Regions from separate parts of the Homo sapiens genome. Here all the other regions are linked to region 3. The links are contacts of gene promoters, found by promoter capture Hi-C in human tissues and cell types (Jung and others, 2019). All regions are on one chromosome and are shown on one strand. Each heading gives the region's core, a stretch centred on a gene start or on the middle of the fragment in contact. The rest is flanking DNA. Distances are from core to core; before and after follow the strand shown. Region 1 overlaps SLC20A2 (solute carrier family 20 member 2). Region 2 holds the start of SLC20A2 (solute carrier family 20 member 2). Region 3 holds the start of CHRNB3 (cholinergic receptor nicotinic beta 3 subunit). Region 4 overlaps RNF170 (ring finger protein 170). Region 5 overlaps SLC20A2 (solute carrier family 20 member 2).

Evidence for each region. The method cuts DNA at HindIII sites, captures the fragments that hold promoters and counts their contacts. A contact is called where the count stands out against the background at its distance.
Region 1: a contact is called between a fragment that was not itself captured here and the fragment with the promoter of CHRNB3 in region 3, in 2 of the 25 tissues and cell types used here (aorta and hippocampus).
Region 2: a contact is called between a fragment that was not itself captured here and the fragment with the promoter of CHRNB3 in region 3, in 4 of the 25 tissues and cell types used here (H1 embryonic stem cells, heart left ventricle, liver and 1 more).
Region 4: a contact is called between a fragment that was not itself captured here and the fragment with the promoter of CHRNB3 in region 3, in 1 of the 25 tissues and cell types used here (lymphoblastoid cells).
Region 5: a fragment that was not itself captured here is called in contact with the fragment with the promoter of CHRNB3 in region 3 in 3 of the 25 tissues and cell types used here (H1 embryonic stem cells, dorsolateral prefrontal cortex and neural progenitor cells).

What each region holds. Positions count from the first base shown.
Region 1 is chr8:42,482,820-42,485,519 of GRCh38, reverse strand. The region is part of intron 1 of SLC20A2 (solute carrier family 20 member 2); the gene reads left to right. Among named protein-coding and RNA genes, the nearest start is that of SLC20A2, 17 kb to the left of the region's middle. The HindIII fragment of the contact is 5,297 bases long and covers 1-2,700 here.
Region 2 is chr8:42,499,896-42,502,595 of GRCh38, reverse strand. It overlaps SLC20A2 (solute carrier family 20 member 2), which reads left to right and starts at 1,365. Exons shown (of 11, transcript NM_001257180.2): 1 at 1,365-1,565. RefSeq lists an enhancer at 1-458. The HindIII fragment of the contact is 5,530 bases long and covers 1-2,700 here.
Region 3 is chr8:42,696,023-42,698,722 of GRCh38, reverse strand. CHRNB3 (cholinergic receptor nicotinic beta 3 subunit) reads right to left here and starts at 1,357. Exons shown (of 6, transcript NM_000749.5): 1 at 1,125-1,357. The coding sequence starts at 1,176. It overlaps LOC124900250 (a long non-coding RNA gene), which reads left to right. Exons shown (of 3, transcript XR_001745887.2): 2 at 1,223-1,397; 3 at 2,148-2,225. The HindIII fragment of the contact is 12,880 bases long and covers 1-2,700 here.
Region 4 is chr8:42,886,158-42,888,857 of GRCh38, reverse strand. It overlaps RNF170 (ring finger protein 170), which reads left to right. Exons shown (of 7, transcript NM_030954.4): 2 at 987-1,130. The coding sequence starts at 994. Among named protein-coding and RNA genes, the nearest start is that of MIR4469, 8.8 kb to the left of the region's middle. The HindIII fragment of the contact is 7,579 bases long and covers 1-2,700 here.
Region 5 is chr8:42,457,455-42,460,154 of GRCh38, reverse strand. It overlaps SLC20A2 (solute carrier family 20 member 2), which reads left to right. Exons shown (of 11, transcript NM_001257180.2): 5 at 163-259. Among named protein-coding and RNA genes, the nearest start is that of SLC20A2, 42 kb to the left of the region's middle. The HindIII fragment of the contact is 6,800 bases long and covers 1-2,700 here.

The sequences.
Region 1 (2,700 bases), core at 69-2,568, 210 kb after region 3:
CAGGCGCCCGCCACTACACCCGGCCAATTTTTGTATTTTTAGTAGAGATGAGGTTTCACCATGTTGGCCAGGCTGGTCTCGAACTCCTGACCTCAGGCGATTCACCCGCCTCGACCTCCCAAAGTGCTTGAATTACAGGCGTGAGCCACCGCGTTCGGCCTAGCCCCAAGTTTTCTAAAGGAAAAATGCAGGCACAGGGAGCTTGACAAGCTCCCCTTTTTTGGAGGGGGGTGCTTTCTGGGTCTTTTATTTGTACGCATTGTGTCCATTACCCCGTGAGTGTACCCAGGGAAATCAGCTGACCTCCCTGAACATTCCATGCAGTGAGAGAAGCAGTGAGGAAATAAATGAGTGACTCTGATGCCTGGTCATCTCAGCCCCCCTTTACAGGCACAGTGGGTGGGAGAAGGGAAGGGCTGTGATTGTCCTGACCTCTGCGAAGGAGGAAAGGTGGGCTGGAGGCTGGGCTGTTAGCACCTCCCTCCCGCAGTTTCGAGGGCTCACTCTGGGCTTAGGTTTGCCAGGGTGCCCTTTGGTCCAAATGCAGGCCTTGTGCTTAGTCGTGTGCCCTGTTCACCTCTTGGCCTGGAGGCCTTTTTGTGCTGCTGCTGTCTCAGGGCCAGCTGCATGGCCGAGATGCTCAGTGGCTGCGTGTAGACCAGCAAGCAGAACACCCAGCTGGCTGGATGCCCTCGGGGTCTGGAAGGCCAGGCCCAGGTGCTCCCGCATGATATGGGAGCAGCCTTTAGCTGCCTGGCTGCCCTCCCAAGTCAGGCTCTCTTGGATCATGGTGGCTGCCAGCCATAGACCACACCCACCCACACTTCATCAGACTGCACATTGGATCTGTCAGGGGACACCATGGGGCTGCACCCCATTCTGCACCCATGGCCTCTCCTGCAAAGCTGGAAGATAGCTTTGAAAGCACAGAGTGCAAGAAAGATGATCTTTATCGTGCATGGGGAATTAAGAGCCATGAGCATTCTCAGAGTGAGGAAATAGTTTTCAAAGAAATCTTATAAAATGTCTTTTCTCTTTTGTGTTTTTTACTGCCATCCCATGGTTTTGTGAAGGTATTAATAATATCAAGCCAGTGCTCATGGTTTCTTAATTTAGTAAAAAGATTTCACTCTCAGTCTCCATAGAAGATGAGAGGAACTGCTAAATTTCTACCTGACTTACCAATCAAATGAACGCTCTTGGGACTATATTGCCTTGTTTAGTGTGTTTATACTGCCAATTTAGCAAGTTATTAGTGAAGTAGAATCAGGTTTTCAGATTTCTGATGAAGCACTTCAGAGAATTGAACAGATTCTCCCACATGGCAAAGAGGAAGAGGCTGCCTAGATCAACTTAATAATCATTTGTCCTCTGTTGTTTTTTCTGCTGGCTAAGAACAATTGCTTAAGAATCTCTGGAATGATAACAAGAAATATGGGGCTGTAAGTTGAGCATGGAAAGGAGTTAAGATAATTTCATTTGTCAGCTCCTCTGTTTATATTAATGTTGCATTAATGGAAAGAATATGCGGTTGTACCAGGAACAAAAAGTTTTATAAGTACCATCCATATTTTTATTGAACCTCCAATAGAATCAAAACAAAGTTAGCAAATAAACATGTAAGAGCCATATCTATTTTCATACATGGTTCCATTTTAAACTGTCTCTGAAGGGAAAGTATTTTCCTAATATAGCTCTTGGAACTTAGCCAAACAGTCCAACATTTCAGGGCACAGAATTGGAACAAGTGATCCTAGGTTTGTCATTTGATAGAAGTTTCATATGTTAAGCGATTTGCTCACGAATATCTACCTATTTTTGGTTATGAGTGAAGAAAATACCTAGAATATCTGGGAGGGCGGGGAATCCATTTATAGTGCATACGGAAAGGAAGAAAGGAGAAAATGTTGAAGAGTCTTTTCTGTGTTAGAGAGTGGGAATAAATTCATAAAGCTTGGCTATTCTCGTCCCTCGCTTCCAGACAGTAGTGTGCCTCAGACTCTCCAGCAAGGCGGTGATCTACTTTAAAAGTCTCTACTGCTGGGGAGTCCACATTTCCAGTGGGAGCTCACTTCGGTGGGCTGCAACCTATTCCATTATAAATGTGTTTCTCCTATCCAAATACAGTTAATTAGTTTGTTTGTTTTTAAGACGGAGTTTTGCTCTTGTCACTCAGGCTGGAGTGCAATGGCACGATCTCGCCTTACTGCAACCTCTGCCTCCTGGGTTCAACCAATGCCTCCGCCTCAGCCTCCCTGGTAGGTGGGATTATAGGCACCTGCCACCATGCCCACCTAATTTTTGTATTTTTAGTAGAGACGGATTTTAGTAGAGACGGAAACAACAGAGTCTCACCATGTTGGCCAGGGTGGTCTCGAACTCCTGACCTCAAGTGATCCACCCAGCTTGGCCTCCCAAAGTGCTGGGATTACAGGCGTGAGCCACTGTGCCCAGCCCAGTTGTTTTTCTTTAAGAGACTGAGTTTTGCTCTTGTTGCCCAGGCTGGAGTGCAATGGCACAATCTCAGCTCACTGCAACCTCTGCCTCCTGGGTTCAAGCGACTCTCCTGCCTCAGCCCCCTGAGTAGCTGGGATTACAGGGACCTGCCCCTACACCTGGCTAATTTTTTGTATTTTTAGTAGAGACGGATTTTTACCATGTAGAGAGATTTTCACCATGTTGGCCAGGCTGGTCTGAAAC
Region 2 (2,700 bases), core at 2-2,501, 200 kb after region 3:
CAGTGTTTGTAAACAACAGGAGGGAGATTGTGCTGGTGATGTCCAACTCACACCAATGAAGATCAACCGGTTTGTGCTTTGGGCAGCAGGCTGCAGATGGACAGTGCCTCCTGAGGGCATCGCCATGTTTTAGGGATCCATGTTGCAGGATACCTGTCTGCAAGAGAGAGTCAAGGAGGGCTTTTTAAGCCCCTGGGGTTCAGGCCTGGCATCTGGGTGTTAAGTAGAGTGAATCTCCTGAAGTCCAAACTAACATATGACATTTTAAAATGAGGAAAACAAATGGCTCTGAAAAGGTCTATAGGATTATAGGTAAGTGGTTAATACGGAAGATGTTATAAAGGTCTCAGGAGGAGATGGGGTGATCCAGGGTTGGTTGAAGTCGTTGAAATGGAATTACCCTGTCTTTTACCTGTCTGTGGGAAAAAAAAAAAAAGAGGAAAATGACATCTCCCAAAGATGCTTGGAGATTTGATTGATGTTTGTAAAGTGCTTTGATATCTTTCATAGAGTGTTCAATAAGAGCAAAATATGTCATCAGAACTTAGTCTAAAGCAAACTAGTCCCAAACCGTCTTGAGTAGATACTAAGCGGTTTTGTGTCTTTGTTATAAGTTGTACTTATATTTTCGAGAGAAAGTTTTTCATGTTCTGATTTTCTTTTAAGTGTCAGCTGTATGTTTGGGGTCTTTACCTGTTAACTTGAGTTCCAACATGCTTTGTAGATGGTCAGTCACCTACAGAGGACAATTTTTCTAGCCAAGGAGTTAAATCCACCTTAAAATGCTTCTTGCCAAGGACAATGCCTTTGCAAATATTTGAGATGTTTATTCTCAGTTGTGATTTATTACTGAATCTGTGTCTTCATAGCGACTCCTTGGGAGGTGCAGGAGGAGGCAGAGCCAGAAAGCAAGTCCCTGCAATCAGTTCATTATAGAGAAAGAAAAAGCTTTTATTTCAGGATTCTGGTGGATAGACTTACTGATATGTATATTCTGTGTCTATTTAATTTCACGTAGTGCTGCATCTAATCACGCTGTTTAAATAATCGGACAGAATGTCCTTTTGCTTTGCTTTTGCTTGTGAAGAGCACACAGCACTGCCACCTTGTTGCCAAAGTTTGGTCTGATTTGAATGTGCTTAAAAATCAAGTGAATGCCTGTTGGGAAAAAGCTTACTCCTTCTCTTTGTCAGTACTTGCAAAAACAACTTAAAAGAAGTTAGTATTATTGGACTGAATTCAGTAATTAGCATAATCATGATGCTATGTATTGTTCACCAGGGCACGCCCCTTGGCCGCATTTCCCATTAAGAGGACACCGATGTTGTCCTAGTGAATAAATCCCGGCACACATGATGCAAATCAGCGTGTTCCTGCCTGCTGCTTGGCTGCAGTTAATTTTAGCCGGGGTTAGTTCTATGAGTTGTAAAAGTAGAAGTTAGCAAGCTGAAATGTGACTTCTCGGCCTAATGTGGTAGGATATCTATTTTAGACTTCAGATTGTGTTTGTGATCAGGAGAGCAGTCTTCTGAAGAATTGTGGCTCAGTTTTCTTGGAAACTACTTGTAAGTACTGGGTGGAATTTTAAGACTTCTCTTTGTTCTTTTCTCCTTAAATCTTCCTAATGTTACCGTCATAGTAATGTTTATCTCTTGGGAAAACTGGAAGCTTTCAGGTTGGTACGTTAGAGAAAGCTAAGAGAGGTGGCAAAAGGTTTTTCTTTAAATGTCTCCTACTGCAATAAATCTGCCTTATTCAATTTGCCCAAGAAAAAGTTTTCGATTCTTACTTATTTTTGCAAAAGCAATCTGTAGATTATTATTTTATGTTAAAATATTTGATTAATGGATATGGTTTCTGTAAATACAGAAACATTGTATTGTGTCATTGAGCTTTGTTTTCTACTATGGTAACCTAATTCTTGAGAAAAAAATGTTGAAAGTTAATTCCTGTTATACTCTGTGCTACAAGTTTATTTTGTAGAAATAATGGAGTGTCAAATGTAATTTTCTTGAATGTATAGATGGACAGTTTTTTATCCTTTTAAGGGGGATTTTGTGCTTAAAAAATAAACCCATATATGCCTAAAGAGAAGCACTTTAAAAAATTAATTTAGGAAGAAGGTTTTAGAGAATAATTTAAAGCATCCTCTTTTAGACTGAGTTAGTTATCAAAAGTAACCAAAGGCCATGGGATTCTGTAACCTTAACTGCAGTTCATCTAACACATTATTACCAACTTAAATTTGTACTGAAGAAAACAAAAGATTTTGATATTGAATATTTTAAATTAAATTTGAATCATCTTGCTTATTTAGAAGTGTGTTTTCAATGTGGACTGACCTCAAGCCAAACAGTTTGCTTACAGCAGAGAACCAGGCAGGAATTTCTTTATCAATTAGCAAGTAAATGTATCAGCTTTAGGAATATTGTTATTAATAAAACAGTTCTCCTAGGCGATAGGATAGGTGCTCACCAGCTATCTATGCCTGTCATCTCTAGAGCAAGGAAGGAGGCAGGTCCACAGTTAGTATTGTGAAAGCCATTTTCCCATTTTGAAAAGATTTAGTTAAAGACTTCTTTGTTATTATGTATTGTCTGATTTTAAATGCAAATGACATAAAGTGTCAACAATGAAAGGAAATACTTCAGTGTTCCATTTAGTAGGAAAAGAGTGTAAGAAAGGAAAGTAGTACTGAGT
Region 3 (2,700 bases), core at 108-2,607:
AATTTTCTTATCATTTTTGTGATTGGCAAACTGCATTCAAGACTTTGAAAAGTCCAAATTTCATGATATTTGAAAGTGAGTTTGAGGCTTTCTGCATTTAGAAATTCCTGTTTGACTTTGAGTCCTTGGTCTGAGAAAAGGCGTTTTTGACAACAGGATAATGTTCAGGTGCCTCGCAGCCTTGGGAACTTGAAATGTAGAATTTATTTCTGGATTTGGGCAAATCTCCCTTAGTGTCTCCAGTTCTCCATTTGAAAATTACAATAATCAAACGTGGCAAAAATACTACTGAGAAATTAATACAAATTGCTAGTGAACTGACACTTTTCTCACCATCTGGCTGCGGTTTCAGATGGTTTCTGATTCAATGGGGGAAAACTTTCTGTTCTCAAGTTACACAAAAAGTGAAAAGATTCCCAAACCCAGGAAATTGGCAGGTGCAAATGACCAATCCCCAAAGCCTTTCAGTACTTTATTCCCCTTTCTTTTTCTCTTTTTGTTCTTTCTCTGCATCTCTGTCTCTATCTTTCACTTTTTCCTTTTATTTGTCCTTTATCCTTATCAAAAATTCCTCTATTTTCAGTTGATAATAGTCACATAAAACACATAGAGTTTTGATACATTGGTGTTTAATTGTGATATATAAACATGCTAAATCTACCTACATACACAGATTTATTAAAATATATAGGCCTACAGGGCATATTGGACAAAATTAAATATCTACATGCAGATATAGAAATTATTGGTAAATATGATAGAAAAATGTTGATATAGTAAATTTCTGTGCCAAATATTTGAACAATTCTCTGAGTAATGCTCAGTGCATTCAATAATGTTTTTCCTGCTTTTGTATTTTCTTACCAAGCTCATAGTGATTCAGAAGGAGAAACGCAGCAAATGACAAAAACATAAACATTATGAAAATCATAGATATGATTTCTTCAGCAAAAAAAACCCCACATCTCACAGAATTACTCATTTGGGCCACATTTTAAAGGTTATCCTAAATGTATCTTGTGCATTACATATTGTAATTCTAACATTATCAACACCATAGTTTTGCCTCCTCTGCTTAAATAATTCTGCAACTGTAGTTTTAATTTACTGTGACTTGTGCTTACCTGAGGAAGGGATGCCAAGGACGATGAGAACCAGCATAAAATCTGGGAGCATCGTGATGTCAGTTTCAGAAAGACAGTTTCTTCCTTTTTAACAACAGAGCATTTCCACTGGAAAAGGGGGTTTTGAAAAGAAAATACAGGGGTTCAAAATCCGAAGTGGAACCCAAGAGGACAGCAACACCTGGAGTGGAATAAAACAATCTCAACCCCTCTCGCCGAGTGTGCCGCTTCTCAAAGTGCACTTCATTGATTTGCAGTCAGCTGTCAGATCGTGTAAGTCTAAAACATATCTCTGGGTCCTAACTCCTGACTTATTAATTTACTCCCTTGCAAGAGATGCGGGGCACTGGAGAAAGGATGAAACTAGACAACTTCTGAATGTTCTGTGCTATTTTTCTTACAGTTGGAGATCTGCGTACAGAAGAACCACACTTTACCACATCCATAGTGAAAAGTTTCTCATCCCCGTTATTTCTCTATTCTCTTTTCTTTTTCTTTTTATTCTTTTTTTTTTTTTTTTGATATGGAGTCTCACTCTGTCACCCAGGCTGGAGTGCAATGGTGCAATCTCGGCTCACTGCAACCTCCGTCTCCCAGGTTCAAGCCATTCTCCCACCTCAGCCTCCTGAGTAGCTGGGATTATAGGCACCTGCCATCATGCCCAGCTAATTTTTGTATTTTTGTAGAGACAGGGTTTCACCATGTTGGCCAGGTTGGTCTTGAACTCCTGACCTCAGGAGATCCGCCCGCCTTGGCCTCCCAAAGTGGTGGGATTACAGGCATGAACCACTGCGCCCAGCCTCTCTATTCTCTTTTCCAGTTGGACCTGAAGTCATGAGTATGTCCTGGAGCCTCCCTATTCTGCTGGTTCCCACATGTGTTAATATCAGCACATTCTCTGTGGCTCCCTTGACCCCACCAGGCCCACCTTCTGGTCACTGCAGGGGACAGTAGGGTGGGAGGTTAGTGGTGTTTTATGTATGAGACTTGGACACTAATAACACCATCCTTTCTTCTTCACAGTTGATCAGATTTCATCTAGTTCAGTGCTGTGCACACCCAGAGGGCCCTTGATAAATGCATGATACATCAAATGAATGGCAAGTACAAAGTCAGGGCTAGACAGACAAGAGGGCCAGGTGGGAGCCAAGACCTATCTGGTTGGGAACTGAGTGCTGGAGGAACCCACTCCAGGGCATGGAGGAATTCTGTCTTAGCGGCAGTGATTTAGTCCAATTTTTAAATTTCTTAATTTAACCCTCCTCTGTGTGCCATTAGTGAGTTTGAGACACCCAGAGGGTGCTCGGTAAGGAGGCATCATGTGTGGAAAAGAGGTCTAGCCCAGGACCCCGGGACCCTGAGCTCTTGAGCCCTGTCTGTTCCTCAGGGCCCCTGTCTCAGAGCCCCTCACATCACAATGTCGCTGCCCTGCCTGGCCTCCCTTCCTAGACCACCAGCTCCTGCAGGAGGGCTTGGTCTCCAGCCCTCTGGAGTCTCCTCTGTATCTCTCTGTGTCCAGGGCCTGACACCTGCAAATGCTTGAGAACGTTGTGGGAATGCAAGGAGGAAGGAAGGA
Region 4 (2,700 bases), core at 188-2,687, 190 kb before region 3:
ACTTATTTGGTATTCAGGAATAAGAAGAGAGCAGTTGGATAAGAATGGCTTTTATTTATTTATTGTTTTTGGTTGGGGGGTGGGGAGGTTGGGGGGCGGGGGACAGGGTCTTGCTCTGTCTCCCAGGCTGGAGTACAGTGGCGCTCTCTGGGCCTCACTACAACCTCTGCCTCCCAGGTTCAAGCGATTCTCCTGCCTTAGCCTCCAGAGTAGCTGACATTACAGGCACACGTCACCCGGCTAAATTTTGTATTTTTAGTAGAGACGGGGTTTCACCATGTTGACCAGGCTGGTCTCGAACTTCTGACCTCAGGTGATCCGCCTGCCTCAGCCTCCCATAATGCTGGGATTACAGGCGTGAGCCACTGCATCTGGCCCAAGAATGGCTTTTTTTTTTTAAAGGGGTTAAGCTTGAAGAGGAAAAAACATTTTTAAAAAATACATAAATAAATGATAAATTATAGTAATTGTTTTCCTTAAAAGAAATAGAATTTGGCTGGGTGCAGTGGCTCATGCCTGTAATCCCGGCACTTTGGGAGGCCGAGGCAGGTGGATCACGAGGTCAGGAGATCAAGACCATCCTGGCTAACACGGTGAAACCCTGTCTCTACTAAAATACAAAAAATTAGCCAGGCGTAGTGGTGCGCGCCTGTAGTCCCAGCTACTTGGGAGGCTGAGGGAGGGGAATTGCTTGAACCCGGGAGGCGGACGTTGCAGTGAGCTGAGATCCGCATCACTGCACTCCAGCCTGGCAACAGAGCAAGAGACTCCATCCAAAAAAAATAGAAATAGAATTTTGTTCTCCACAAAATAATGTGTCTGGCAAATTTTAAAGAACTCCATCAGTCCCCACTGGAGTTGTACTTAATTGCAGCCTATCAGAAACCAAATATATTAGAAGTCAGTTATATTTACATTGCTTTTATTAGTATATTTCATTTTCACTGTGTCATTTGTAACTCTCATCTTGTTTCTTCTTATTTTAGACCTGGAATGGCCAAATATCAAGGTGAAGTTCAAAGTTTGAAACTGGATGATGATTCAGTTATAGAAGGAGTAAGCGACCAAGTACTTGTGGCAGTTGTGGTCAGTTTCGCTTTGATTGCTACCCTGGTATATGCACTTTTCAGGTGAGATTTAAGGACAAAAGAATTGAGTAGATTTGCAAGGGCTGCTGACTTTTTGACCCCTAATAATGTATAATACTTAATATGAACAGCAAGTAACAGATCTCAGTGATTGTAGATGTTTACTAAGGTATTTTATTTTCCACGGGGCTTTGAATGCTAACATATATTTCCTGTCATCAGCTGTCTTACCAAATAATAATTAAATTTATCATCCACATTTTGAATAAAATATTAGTACTTTCTATTGGCGTATGGCAATTTAAAAAACTTTAATTTCCATAATTAAATCCATCAACTTGTAGGTGATATAGATGATAAGTGCAAAATACTTTCAGTTTTAAATGGAAAAATTGAGGCAAAAAAAGACTTGTATAGTAAAAAGGGAACTAATATTAGAATTAATTTTTTTACTTATTTATTTATTTATTTATTTTTTGAGACGGAGTCTCAATGTGTCGTCCAGGCTGGAGTGCCATGGCACTGTCTCAGCTCACCACAACCTCTGCCTCTGGGGTTCAAGCGATTCTCCTGCCTCAGCCTCCCAAATAGCTGGGATTACAGGCACATGCCACCATGCCCGGCTTATTTTATATTTTTAGTAGAGATGGGGTTTCTCCATGTTGATCAGGCTGGTCTCAAACTCCTGACCTGAGGTGATCCACCTGCGTCAGCCTCCCAAAGTGCTGGGATTACAGGCTTGAGCCACTGCACCTGGCCCTAATTTTTTGTATTTTTTTGTAGAGACAGGATTTCGCTAGGTTGGCCAGGCTGGTCTCAAACTCCTGACCTCAAGTGAACCACCCGACTCAGCCTCCCAAAGTGCTGGGATTACACTCATGAGCCACTATGCCCAGCCTATTTATTTATTTTAGAGACAGGGTCTCGCTACATTGCCCCAGTTGGACTTGAACTCCTGGACTCAAGCAGTCCTCCCATCCCAGCTTCCCAGGTTGCTGGGACTACAGGTATGCACCACTGCACCTGATTCTAAAATTAATTTAGGCTGGATGTGGTGGCTCACGCCGGTAATCCCAGCACCTTGGGAGGCTGAGGCAGGCGGATCACCTGAGGTCAGGAGTTCGAGACTAGCCTGGCCAACATGGTGAAACCCTCGTCTCTACTAAAAATACAAAAATTAGCTGGGCATGGTGGCAGGTGCCTATAATCCCAGCTACTTGGGCGGCTGAGGCGTGAGAATCACTTGAACTTGGGAGGCAGAGGTTGCAGTGATCCAAGATAGTCTCTTATTAGGGTAACATTATCTTGATTTCAATCGGGTATTTTATAGAGTGATAATCCAGAGTGATTGATACTGGTGATACACTGTGGATATCATGGGGGAAATAATGACTAGATGATAGCAGAGTTAAGTGAACTCCACTAAGCAGGTTGTTCTTAGGATTCCTGACTAATGTTTTAATATACACCAAATAGAAGGACATTGTATATTGCTGCAGGGCTCTGTCCTTGGGCCTTTTCTATTATTATTATTATTTTTTTTTTTGAGACCGAGTCTCACTCTGTTGCCCAGGCTGGAGTGCAGTGGCGTGATCTCGGCTCACTGCAAGCT
Region 5 (2,700 bases), core at 107-2,606, 240 kb after region 3:
AGAAGTGGAGCAGATCACAGGCAGTGACAACGCCCATCCTTTTGGCCACACTGGGGTTTGGGAAGAGTTTCTTGTAACAGTATTTTGTATCATTTTGTCTGTGTTGGCTCCAAATGCTGCTGGGATCCTGACCTTCCACTCTGTCTCCTTGTCTTCCTACAGGAAGACCCTGTTCCCAATGGCCTCCGGGCACTCCCAGTATTCTATGCTGCTACCATAGCAATCAATGTCTTTTCCATCATGTACACAGGAGCACCAGGTAAGGATCCCTTGGAAGCATACTCCAGGGGCAAAGTGCATTGTATTCTAACAGTATCAGTTTATTTGGTGCTGGTATTGTTGGCTGACAGTAAAAAGCATTACTCATGGTCATTATGGAATAGGTGCTGGAGTTGTTGGCTGATAGTAAAATGCGTTACTCATGGTCATTATAGAATAGTAAAAAGAGTGGTAAATGCATTTACTTGTCTTAATTAAATACCCAAGAGATATGTAGAGTACAAAGGCAACAGACTTTCAAGTTAGAAAAAAAAATTAAATCCCCACTCTGCCATTTACGCAGCTGTGTTGCCACTATAGCTTAGCCTCTCTGAGCCTCAGAACCTGATCTAATCCCACAGGCCTACAGGGTTGTGCAGGGGTCAGGAGAGGGTGTGGAGCACCTGGGGCCATGCCTGGCACCCAGTGAGCGGGACAGTCCACACATCAGCAATGCCCAGCGGAGCTCTAAAGCCGTTCACAGCACAGAGTACAGACCCCTGGAAATATCAGACCAGTTTATCCAGAGACTAGAAGCCATGCTTTGTTTTTTTAGATACCGAAGCCAATGATGATTTTCTTTGCTGAATTACTCCTTTCCTTGTCATTCTCATGGATTTTGTTGTTATTTTTTATGTTTTTTTTTTTTTTTTTTTTTTTTGAGATAGAGTCTCACTCTCTCACCCAGGATGGAGTGCAATCGCGCTATCTTGGAAAACTGCAACCTCCGCCTCCCAGGTTCAAGCGATTCTCCTGCCTCAGCCTCCTTAGTAGCTGGGATTACAGGAGCACACCACAGGTTTTCACTATGTTGGCCAGGCTGGTCTCGAACTCCTGACCTTGTGATCCGCCTGCCTCGACCTCCCAAAGTGCTGGGATTACAGGCGTGAGCCACTGCGCCTGGCCGCTTTTGTTCTTTTGTATAAAGGTTCAGAGGTTTTTTGTGGGGGGGGGGGTTAAAAATTATTTTTTATTTTATTTTATTTTTGAGACAGAGGCTCGCTCTGTTGCCCAGGCTGGAGTGCAGTGGCGCTATCTTGGCTCACTGCAAGCTCCGCCTCCTGGGTTCATGCCATTCTCCTGCCTCAGCCTCCCGAGTAGCTGGGACTACAGGCGCCCTCCTCCTCGCCCAGCTAATTTTTTGTATTTTTAGTAGAGACAGGGGTTTCACCATATTAGCCAGGATGGTCTCAGTCTCCTGACCTCATGATCCGCCCCACCTTGGCCTCCCAAAGTGCTGGGATTACAGGCATGAGCCACCATGCCCGGCCTTTTTTTTTTTTTTTTTCTTTATTGCCCAGGCTGGAATGCAGTGGTGCAATCATAGCCCACTGCAGCCTTGACCTCATGGGCCCAAGCAATCCTCCCACCTCAGCCCCCTGAGTAGCCGGAACCACAGGTGTGTGCCACCACACCCAGCTAATTTTTTATTTTTTGTAGAGATGGGGTCTCTATATTGCCCAGGCTGGTATCAAACTCCTGGCCTCAAGTAATCCTCCTGCCTCAGCTTCCCAAAGTGCTGGGATTACAGGTGTGAGCCCTACTGCACCTGGCCTAATTCTTTTCTTTTAGACCTTGAATAGGAAAATGAATAAGCTTATGTATGGTATTCTTGTTTGCACCCATTTCAGCACTGATGAGCTAGTAGCATTCTGTTAAACATTTCTGTACATGTTTGCTAGAGAATATTCCTCTTCTGTTTGTGAGATGCGCCTCCTACAGCCAGACTGTGGGATCTGTGACATCAACAGATGTGTTAGTTTGTGCTGGTTTTCATCTTCTTAATGTCTGTTATGGATGAAGATTTGGTTATTGGCCATGTTGACAGAAAAGGCTCCCTCTCTGTGTTTTAAAGATGAAATTTCTGCTAAATGACATGTCCTATCATAATCGAAAAGCGCCCTCTTCCAAAATAGTGGAAATCCTTATTACTTTCTCAAACTAGGAGTTCTCAATGTAATGTTCCTCAGATTTTATTAAGAATATCTAATTATATTTTATATGTTTCAGTACTGGGAATAAAGTATTCCTAAATGATTCTAACATTATATAACCTTTTACTGTGGTATCTGTGTAGTGTTCAGAACATTGATCTTAAAGGCTTAAATACTCAGCCGGGCGCAGTGGCTCATGCCTGTAATCCCAACACTTTGGGAGGCCGAGGTGGGTGGATCACAAGGTCAAGAGATCAAGACCATCCTGGCCAACCTGGTGAAACCCCGTCTCTACTAAAAATACAAAAATTAGCTGGGCGTGATGGTGCGCGCCTGTAGTCCCAGCTACTCAGGAGGCTGAGGCAGGATAATTGCTTGAACCTGAACCCAGGAGGTGGAGGTTGCAGTGAGCCAAGCTTGCGCCACTGCCCTCCAGCCTGGGTGACACAGCGAGACTTTGTCTCAAAAAAAAAAAAAAAGTTTAAATACTCACTGTGGGGCTTCCAGA